2 separate regions of the Homo sapiens genome follow, and region 1 is linked to region 2. The links are contacts of gene promoters, found by promoter capture Hi-C in blood cells and fetal thymus (Javierre and others, 2016). All regions are on one chromosome and are shown on one strand. The core of a region is centred on a gene start or on the middle of the fragment in contact, and the rest is flanking DNA. Distances in the headings are between cores, read along the strand shown.

Evidence for each region. Contacts are between HindIII fragments. The CHiCAGO score rates a contact against its expected background, and 5 or more counts as called.
Region 1: a contact is called between a fragment that was not itself captured here and the fragment with the promoter of FOS in region 2, in 3 of 17 cell types (activated CD4 T cells, total CD8 T cells and total CD4 T cells). The highest score is 9.2, in activated CD4 T cells.

The regions. Positions count from the first base shown.
Region 1 is chr14:75,534,362-75,539,774 of GRCh38, forward strand. All of the region lies in intron 2 of BATF (basic leucine zipper ATF-like transcription factor), which reads left to right. Among named protein-coding and RNA genes, the nearest start is that of BATF, 15 kb to the left of the region's middle. RefSeq lists a silencer at 4,279-4,493 and enhancers at 4,724-4,773, 4,844-4,903, 5,194-5,243. The HindIII fragment of the contact is 5,692 bases long and covers 1-5,413 here.
Region 2 is chr14:75,276,496-75,281,421 of GRCh38, forward strand. FOS (Fos proto-oncogene, AP-1 transcription factor subunit) reads left to right here and starts at 2,333. Exons shown (of 4, transcript NM_005252.4): 1 at 2,333-2,628; 2 at 3,382-3,633; 3 at 4,065-4,172; 4 at 4,288-4,926. The coding sequence starts at 2,488. RefSeq lists silencers at 497-1,006, 1,735-1,824, 2,175-2,234 and enhancers at 2,323-3,250, 2,605-2,664, 3,251-4,176, 4,203-4,762, 4,763-4,926. The HindIII fragment of the contact is 6,704 bases long and covers 152-4,926 here.

The DNA.
Region 1 (5,413 bases), core at 1,522-4,021, 260 kb after region 2:
AAGGCAGGGTTTCTCAACCCCAGTGGAACTGATACTTCGAGTCCGATAATTCTTTGTTGTTGGGGATTGTCCTGTGCCTTGTAAAATGTAAAATTTACCCACAAGATGCCAGTAGAACACCCCCTCACCCTGCTTAGTTTGATAACCAAAAATATTTCCAGAACTTGCTAAATGTCCCTGGAAAGGCAAAATCAGTCCTAGTTGAGAACGCTACACTAAGGAGAAAGACACATGGAAAGTTGTTCTTTCTCCTTAATACTTGACAACCTGTAACATTAACATGAAATTAAGAAGCCTTCATCAAGCTAATTGGCAACAAGTAAATTATTTAAAATTATAACACCTAAATGCCAGTGAGGTTGTAGTGAAATGGATAGAAGCATTCGCTAGTGGTGACATTATATACTTGATATGACCCCTTTTCAGTAATACTTCTCAGGACTGGGAAGATTGAATGCCTCCTTTGCCTCATTCATTTCATTCCTAGGAATTTCTCCAAGGAAATCACTGAACAGAGACAAAACCCAGTGTGCATCACGATGTTCATCTCAGCATTATTTTTAATAGTGACAATTTGATAGCAACCAAGATGTCCAGCATTAGAAGACCACTTTAAGTAAATTGTGGATAATCAATTTGATGATGCAGTCATTAAAAATTATGTTGACTATGTAGATGTGACAAAGTTATGACAGAAAGCAAAATACAAATTGTATGTGTACTATGATTGAAATTTTGTAAAAATAAGTATGCATGTTTGTTCAAAAGGATGAGATGGCCAAGTGGGATGGTTCATGCCTGTAATCCCAATACATACGGAGGCCAAGGCAGGAGGATGACTTGAGACCAAGCTGGGCAACAGAGTGAGATCCTGTCTCTACAAAATATAAAAATAAAAATAAAAATAATTAGCCAGGCGTGGTAGCTTGCACCCAGCTACTTTAGAGGCTGAGGTGGGAAGATCACTTGAGCCCAGGAGGTTGAGGCTGCAGTGAGCCCTGATTACATCACTGCACTCTGGACTGGGTAATAGAGTGAGACCCTGTGTCAACAAAAAGGATGAGATCTCAATATGTGTAAATGAAAACAGCTGTATTAAGGGACTAGGATCATGGGCGTTTTTAACTTTTAAAAAATATCTTTAATGTAGTTATACTGTATTTTTTTATTTTTAAAGAAACAGAAGAAAATGGCCAAATAGAGAGCTGAAGGAACTCTGGAGGACATCAAGTACAAAGAGACAATATTACTGAGCTCGAATTTGGGGATCAGGTTTTGGTAGGAGACCTTATAATTTATACCCCAAATAGGAATACTTCGAGAGTGGAAGATGGAACTTGTAAATATTACACCAGGAAAACAGGTGTCCCAGTAAATGTCTGGTCACCCTAGACAGGGAAACCAAGAAAGATGACATGAAGCTCTTATGAAAACTCAGAAGTGATAAAGTTCAGAGTCAAGTAGAGGGGACTGGATTCCTATGACCAAAATGTGATTTCCTGCAACTGAGGACCCTGTAACTAAAAAAGGGTACTCAGCTGGCATAAGAATATGTCTTATCATTAAGAGAGTAGGATGACACAGAAAATTATAAAGCAAAGGCCATATTATCAGTACTAGAGCTGAGATCAGCGGAAGTGATTCATCTACTCAACAAATATTTATCAGCCAGGAACAGTTCGTTCTAGGCACTGAGAATATTGCAGGGACAGGACAGACAGAGTCTCTGATTTCACGAACCTTACAGTCAGTTGGAAGTCAGGCTGGAAAACAAATAAACACACTAATCACATGACATGTAAAGTGCTTCAAAGAAGATGAAATCATGCAATGTGGAAAGTGTCTAAGGGACGGGATTGGGGCAGCGATCAGGGGAGGCCTTCCTGAGGCCCTGGAATTTGAGATCAAAGGTGAATCAAAGAGGAGACTGGAAAGATCTGGGGAGAGGGTGATCTCAGCCTAGAGAGCCTTGAGGCCAAGCTGCGAGGCCAGGCAAAGGTCAGAAAGGTGCTTGGTAAGGTGGAGACCAAGTTCAAGACCATAAGGGAGTGAGGAGGAACTCAGTAATAATGGCAATTGTAGGGCTGAGCACAGTGGCTCACACCTGTAATCCCAGCACTTTGGGAGGCCGAGTTGGTTGGATCATTTGAGGCCAGGAGTTCGAGACCAGCCTGAGCAACACAGTGAAACCCCATCTCTACAAAAAAAAATTTTTTTTAAATATCCAGGCATGCACCTATGGTCCCACCTACTTGGGAGGCTGAGGCGGGAGATTTGCTTAAGTCCAAGAGGTCGAGGTTGCAGTGAGTTGTGATAGCACCACTGCACTCCAGCCTGGGCAACAGGGCAAGATCCTGTCTTTAAAATAAAATAAAATAAAATAAAATAAAATAAAATAAAGGCAATTGTGCTGCTAGGAGCAGGAACTGGATGGGGCATGTGGTGGGGACCCAACTAATTCAAACCCTGCCTGGGGGATTTCTCTGAACCTAAACTCTGATCATAAGTTGAGAAGCAATAGCACCTCACTAGGCTGTTTGACCGTTTAATTGAGAGGGCAAATGTAAGAACAAAGCAATATTGTCATTTTTTTTTTACACTGTTCCTTTGTTTAATGCAGACAGCCTGCCCTTTTCCTAGAAATCAATCAGATATATTATCCTACATGAACACACACGTTCTTCTTTCTGGTTGCTTATAAACTCTTTAAGGATATCAGTAGTTTCAGGGGCTTGGCCTTTCACAACTAGGCAAGTCTCCTTTGTTGGGTATGAATGGAGAGAGGGTCAAATTTGAACTAGGGAAATGGCACGACGAAGTTCTTAAAGTGGTTGTAATTCTGCCACTCCCACGCTGTTGGTTCAGTTTGGGGAATAAACAGAGGTTTGACCTAGGCCTTTTGAAAAAATGAATCTCTTGGATTCATTTGGAAGTATCCCAGATTTACAAAGTAGAAGCTATTAAAGTGTTTGAGTGGTGGTTAATCACTCTCTAGGAATTCTCATGGACATCACAGATTTACTCAGCTGACCCTTCTTCATAGGCACATCTCAGATTTTGGAAAATTATTCCAGATTATAAGTTGGCAGTCAAGCAACGTGATTTGATCGAACACTTACTCTATGGCAGGCACTGTCCTTGTCACTGAGAACAAAACAGTGAAGACAATAATAGCTCCTGCCCTCACAGAGCTCAACAATGTAAATGGTAAGGAAACGAAACGGTTAAAGTTATAATTAATGAAACACGAATAGATCCCTGAGCTCTTGCCTTTCCATTATATGAATGAACTGTGCTGGACTATTTAGAATTGTTTCCACCAATTTAAGAATATAATAGTAGTGTGCTTAAATGGACATTTTGTTTTAGAAATTTTTTTAACTAGAAATAGTCTCCCAACTCTTTAAATTTTTTAATATTATACTATAAATGATAAAATAAAATACATATTTAATAAAATGAAAATATGTAAAAATATAAACTCTTTAAGGATATCAGTAGTTTCAGGGGCTTGGCCTTTCACAACTGGGCAAGTCTCACAAATTTAATTTGTTTGTTAACAAACAAATTTAATAAAATCAAACACTATATAGTTATGTTATATTTTTATTATTTTGAGATAAGGTTTCACTCTTTTCCCAGGCTGGAGTGCAGTGGTGCGATCATGGCTGACTGCAGCCTCCACCTCCCAGGCACAAATGATCCTCCCACCTTGGCCTCCCAAATAGCTGGGACTACAGGTGTGTGCCACTATGCCTGGTTAACTTTTAAATTTTTTGTAAAGATTGGGTATCACTATGTTGCCCAGGCTGGTCTCAAACTTCCGGGCTCAAATGACCCTCCTGCCAAAGAAGCCTCCCAAAGTGCTAGGATTACAGCAACTGCACCTGGCCTTATGTTATTATTAAAAGGAATCCACTATGAACATGATTTTTTGCCCATTTGGCTCACTTAGGAAGCATTTTTAAAGTCTTGATGCCTGCAACCACTCCAGAACAATTAAATTGGAACCTCTGGGGGTCTGGCATCCAGGAATCCAGACTGTTTAAGGCTCTCCGGGTGCTGGCAGTGTGCACAGCCAGGGTTGAGAATCAGAAGCAGTACATTTGCAGCCTATCAGGTCTGTACCTGAATATGTGGAGTGAGTAGAATGTGTGGAGTGAGCAGAATGTGTGGAGTGAGTGTGGGGCAATTGTGTGGGTAAGTACACAGATACTCTGTCACATACAGTGGCCTGATGGCTTAAAACAAAACAAACGGCCAGGTGCGGTGGCTCACGCCTGTAATCCCAACACTTTGGGAGCCCGAGGCGGGTGGATCACGAGGTCAGGAGATCGAGACCATCCTGGCTAACACGGTGAAACCATGTCTCTACTAAAAATACAAAAAATTAGCCGGGCATGGTGGCGGGTGCCCGTAGTCCCAGCTACTAGGGAGGCTGAGGCAGGAGAATGGCATGAACCCGGGAGGCGGAGCTTGCAATGAGCCGAGATCGTGCCACTGCACTCCAGCCTGGGCGACAGAGCGAGACACGGTCTCAAAAAACAAACAAACAAACAAACAAACTATTCAAACCCTTGCTTTGATGGCAGTTATTATTTGTTTTGTTGTTTGGTTTTGAACATTGATAATCTTGCTAGTGGTAACCTTTGTAACTCGAAGCATCAGTATCAGCCAAGATTGCATGCATTCAGAGACAAGTGAGAGACCAGCCATCAAATGAGGAATCAACAAATCATGGCCTACTTTTCTCATGTAACAAGAAGTTCAAAAGTGGAGAGACCAGGCTACAGCAAGGAAGAACCAAGCTCCTTCTCTCTAAGCAGCCATCCTCAGTATGAGGCTTTCATTCTCTAGGCTGTGAGATGGGTGCCGAGCCTCTCGGCATCAGTCTATGTTGAAGGAAGGAAGCCTTTGTCCTTATGAGCAGGCTGTGCCTTTTTGGTAGGAAGGGAAGCTCTGCCTTCACCTCCCTCCCGCCCATCAGGTACTTCTGCTTACGTATCTTTGGTCAGAATTCTGTCACATGGCTACCCCTAGCTACAAGGTAAGGTAAGCTGGAATTTTTTTTTTTTTTTTTTTTTTTTTTTAGCAATTCTTTTCCCAGTCTTTCTAGAGGAAGGCAAGGCAGAAGGGGTTTGGGATGGACGCTGAATGAACCAAACTATAGTTTTTTTCACATTTGAGGGCAATGAAATCATAGTCTTGAAAACCAAGGACCAGGCGATAGCCTTTTCACCCTGTGACTAGACAGGTCCCTGAGGGCACGGCTGATGTGGCCAATCTTCTGTAAATGCAAAGGTGCTTATGGCCCTAGAGCTTCAGCTCTAAGACATGAAAGTGAAGGTTCCTCCAGAATCACACACGTGCATTATTCAGCGCAAAGATCTGTGGTTTGGTGATTCTTCTTCTC
Region 2 (4,926 bases), core at 1,083-3,582:
TCTCGAACTCCTGGCCTCAAGTGATCCACCCGCCTCGGGCTCCCAAAGTGCAGGAATTACAGGAGTGAGCCACCGCACCCAGTCAGGTTTCCTGTTAAGTGGCCTGAGATCTAGTTGTGAATGGCAGTCATGGCCAGACTCAGGAATTCAAAGCTTGACCTATTTTGTCTGAAGCTAATATTAATAATAAGAGAGATGTATTTGGCTTCATAACCCCTTTCCCTCCCGTCCCCCTCTTTCTTTCTGTAATCAAGGATAGAATTAGAAGTACCGAAGGCCGCAGAATTGCTTTAGGATTCAGAGCAGCTCCAAGGAATCTGTGTTTACGTATTATGTGTGTTTTTCCGTTTCCCTCCCTTTTTATGAGTGAGAAAAAAAAGCGCCTAAATTCCCACCAACATAAACCAATGACATACAATGATGAAATTCTGTTTTCACCTCTGCCTGTGACAGGGAATGCAAAAATAGCAAGTGGCCCAGTTCCACGAATCCCCGCCTCCTGCCCTCCCCGCTCCTGCCGGGTTGGATCTCTAAGAATGGAGGTTAGCGCACAGCCTCGCGCGGGCCGCTCAGCCCCCGGACCCGGCGGATGATGTCAGGCGACGGGAGCGGCCGCGGCCGGGCCGGGGAGGCCGCGGCCCAGGGGAGCTGGGAGGGAGGGTGGCCTCGCCAGGCCGACGGCGCGCCCGGCCGCGCGGCGTTGCCTGGAGACGGCCCTGGCGGCGCTGTGTTGCTGTAAACAGCCGCTTCCCTGTTACTATCTATAGCAGGATCTCCTGGCTCCCGGGCGCGGCGGCTGGAGGCAGGTCTGCGGTCCGGCTCCCCGCGCGCCCCGAACTATCCGCCCGCCGGCCTCATCCTGCCTCGCCCCTCTCCAGGTGCCCACCGCGGGCCCCGACCCCCGGGCCCGAAGAGTGGAGAAGGGAAGACCGGGGCTGTGCGGGGACATGCGTCTTCGCGCCCTGGAGGTGGCCAGCGCGCTGGGGCTGAGCCCCGGCAGCGTGACCCCGGCTGTCCTACGCAGCAGGGCAGGAGATTGGGGGGCGTGGCACACTCTGGAGCACCTTGCCTCCCCAAAGCCCCGTGTTCCAGGACGTGGAGCCGCTCCTGGGGTCCCAGCAGTCGAGGTATTCCGCCCAGGCGCAGCTGGACACTGTCCTTCCAGCCCCCGTCCTCCACCCTCCAAGTCCGCGCTGGAAAATCACCCGCTGCGGGCTCCCGTAAGCACAGCTTCCTGGCGGGACCGAACCAGCCCTCAGCGCAGATTTGAGTTCCCCGCAGGAAGCACACCCCGCCTTGTCATCCCGAACTGACCACCCTGCCCACATAACCACACCTCGCACTCCCTACCCCTGGGGCCCAGCTCAGAACCGGGCAGACACCCCCTTCAAATGTCTTCGCACGTAGGTTTTGCACAGTGTTTATCTGCTGGTGTCTCAGGGATTTGACAGTTTCCTTAATATTCCCACACATGGCCGAGAAAAATAAATAAATAAATGCGCTGTCTTCTTTAAAAAAATAAATAAATAAAGTACCCAGTATCGTAAAGTAGGTTATCGTATTCTCTTATTTTGGATCCTCCACTTTCTGCTTCCAAACGCAGGAACAGTGCTAGTATTGCTCGAGCCCGAGGGCTGGAGGTTAGGGGATGAAGGTCTGCTTCCACGCTTTGCACTGAATTAGGGCTAGAATTGGGGATGGGGGTAGGGGCGCATTCCTTCGGGAGCCGAGGCTTAAGTCCTCGGGGTCCTGTACTCGATGCCGTTTCTCCTATCTCTGAGCCTCAGAACTGTCTTCAGTTTCCGTACAAGGGTAAAAAGGCGCTCTCTGCCCCATCCCCCCCGACCTCGGGAACAAGGGTCCGCATTGAACCAGGTGCGAATGTTCTCTCTCATTCTGCGCCGTTCCCGCCTCCCCTCCCCCAGCCGCGGCCCCCGCCTCCCCCCGCACTGCACCCTCGGTGTTGGCTGCAGCCCGCGAGCAGTTCCCGTCAATCCCTCCCCCCTTACACAGGATGTCCATATTAGGACATCTGCGTCAGCAGGTTTCCACGGCCTTTCCCTGTAGCCCTGGGGGGAGCCATCCCCGAAACCCCTCATCTTGGGGGGCCCACGAGACCTCTGAGACAGGAACTGCGAAATGCTCACGAGATTAGGACACGCGCCAAGGCGGGGGCAGGGAGCTGCGAGCGCTGGGGACGCAGCCGGGCGGCCGCAGAAGCGCCCAGGCCCGCGCGCCACCCCTCTGGCGCCACCGTGGTTGAGCCCGTGACGTTTACACTCATTCATAAAACGCTTGTTATAAAAGCAGTGGCTGCGGCGCCTCGTACTCCAACCGCATCTGCAGCGAGCATCTGAGAAGCCAAGACTGAGCCGGCGGCCGCGGCGCAGCGAACGAGCAGTGACCGTGCTCCTACCCAGCTCTGCTCCACAGCGCCCACCTGTCTCCGCCCCTCGGCCCCTCGCCCGGCTTTGCCTAACCGCCACGATGATGTTCTCGGGCTTCAACGCAGACTACGAGGCGTCATCCTCCCGCTGCAGCAGCGCGTCCCCGGCCGGGGATAGCCTCTCTTACTACCACTCACCCGCAGACTCCTTCTCCAGCATGGGCTCGCCTGTCAACGCGCAGGTAAGGCTGGCTTCCCGTCGCCGCGGGGCCGGGGGCTTGGGGTCGCGGAGGAGGAGACACCGGGCGGGACGCTCCAGTAGATGAGTAGGGGGCTCCCTTGTGCCTGGAGGGAGGCTGCCGTGGCCGGAGCGGTGCCGGCTCGGGGGCTCGGGACTTGCTCTGAGCGCACGCACGCTTGCCATAGTAAGAATTGGTTCCCCCTTCGGGAGGCAGGTTCGTTCTGAGCAACCTCTGGTCTGCACTCCAGGACGGATCTCTGACATTAGCTGGAGCAGACGTGTCCCAAGCACAAACTCGCTAACTAGAGCCTGGCTTCTCCGGGGAGGTGGCAGAAAGCGGCAATCCCCCCTCCCCCGGCAGCCTGGAGCACGGAGGAGGGATGAGGGAGGAGGGTGCAGCGGGCGGGTGTGTAAGGCAGTTTCATTGATAAAAAGCGAGTTCATTCTGGAGACTCCGGAGCGGCGCCTGCGTCAGCGCAGACGTCAGGGATATTTATAACAAACCCCCTTTCAAGCAAGTGATGCTGAAGGGATAACGGGAACGCAGCGGCAGGATGGAAGAGACAGGCACTGCGCTGCGGAATGCCTGGGAGGAAAAGGGGGAGACCTTTCATCCAGGATGAGGGACATTTAAGATGAAATGTCCGTGGCAGGATCGTTTCTCTTCACTGCTGCATGCGGCACTGGGAACTCGCCCCACCTGTGTCCGGAACCTGCTCGCTCACGTCGGCTTTCCCCTTCTGTTTTGTTCTAGGACTTCTGCACGGACCTGGCCGTCTCCAGTGCCAACTTCATTCCCACGGTCACTGCCATCTCGACCAGTCCGGACCTGCAGTGGCTGGTGCAGCCCGCCCTCGTCTCCTCCGTGGCCCCATCGCAGACCAGAGCCCCTCACCCTTTCGGAGTCCCCGCCCCCTCCGCTGGGGCTTACTCCAGGGCTGGCGTTGTGAAGACCATGACAGGAGGCCGAGCGCAGAGCATTGGCAGGAGGGGCAAGGTGGAACAGGTGAGGAACTCTAGCGTACTCTTCCTGGGAATGTGGGGGCTGGGTGGGAAGCAGCCCCGGAGATGCAGGAGCCCAGTACAGAGGATGAAGCCACTGATGGGGCTGGCTGCACATCCGTAACTGGGAGCCCTGGCTCCAAGCCCATTCCATCCCAACTCAGACTCTGAGTCTCACCCTAAGAAGTACTCTCATAGTTTCTTCCCTAAGTTTCTTACCGCATGCTTTCAGACTGGGCTCTTCTTTGTTCTCTTGCTGAGGATCTTATTTTAAATGCAAGTCACACCTAGTCTGCAACTGCAGGTCAGAAATGGTTTCACAGTGGGGTGCCAGGAAGCAGGGAAGCTGCAGGAGCCAGTTCTACTGGGGTGGGTGAATGGAGGTGATGGCAGACACTTTTACTGAATGTCGGTCTTTTTTTGTGATTATTCTAGTTATCTCCAGAAGAAGAAGAGAAAAGGAGAATCCGAAGGGAAAGGAATAAGATGGCTGCAGCCAAATGCCGCAACCGGAGGAGGGAGCTGACTGATACACTCCAAGCGGTAGGTACTCTGTGGGTTGCTCCTTTTTAAAACTTAAGGGGAAAGTTGGAGATTGAGCATAAGGGCCCTTGAGTAAGACTGTGTCTTATGCTTTCCTTTATCCCTCTGTATACAGGAGACAGACCAACTAGAAGATGAGAAGTCTGCTTTGCAGACCGAGATTGCCAACCTGCTGAAGGAGAAGGAAAAACTAGAGTTCATCCTGGCAGCTCACCGACCTGCCTGCAAGATCCCTGATGACCTGGGCTTCCCAGAAGAGATGTCTGTGGCTTCCCTTGATCTGACTGGGGGCCTGCCAGAGGTTGCCACCCCGGAGTCTGAGGAGGCCTTCACCCTGCCTCTCCTCAATGACCCTGAGCCCAAGCCCTCAGTGGAACCTGTCAAGAGCATCAGCAGCATGGAGCTGAAGACCGAGCCCTTTGATGACTTCCTGTTCCCAGCATCATCCAGGCCCAGTGGCTCTGAGACAGCCCGCTCCGTGCCAGACATGGACCTATCTGGGTCCTTCTATGCAGCAGACTGGGAGCCTCTGCACAGTGGCTCCCTGGGGATGGGGCCCATGGCCACAGAGCTGGAGCCCCTGTGCACTCCGGTGGTCACCTGTACTCCCAGCTGCACTGCTTACACGTCTTCCTTCGTCTTCACCTACCCCGAGGCTGACTCCTTCCCCAGCTGTGCAGCTGCCCACCGCAAGGGCAGCAGCAGCAATGAGCCTTCCTCTGACTCGCTCAGCTCACCCACGCTGCTGGCCCTG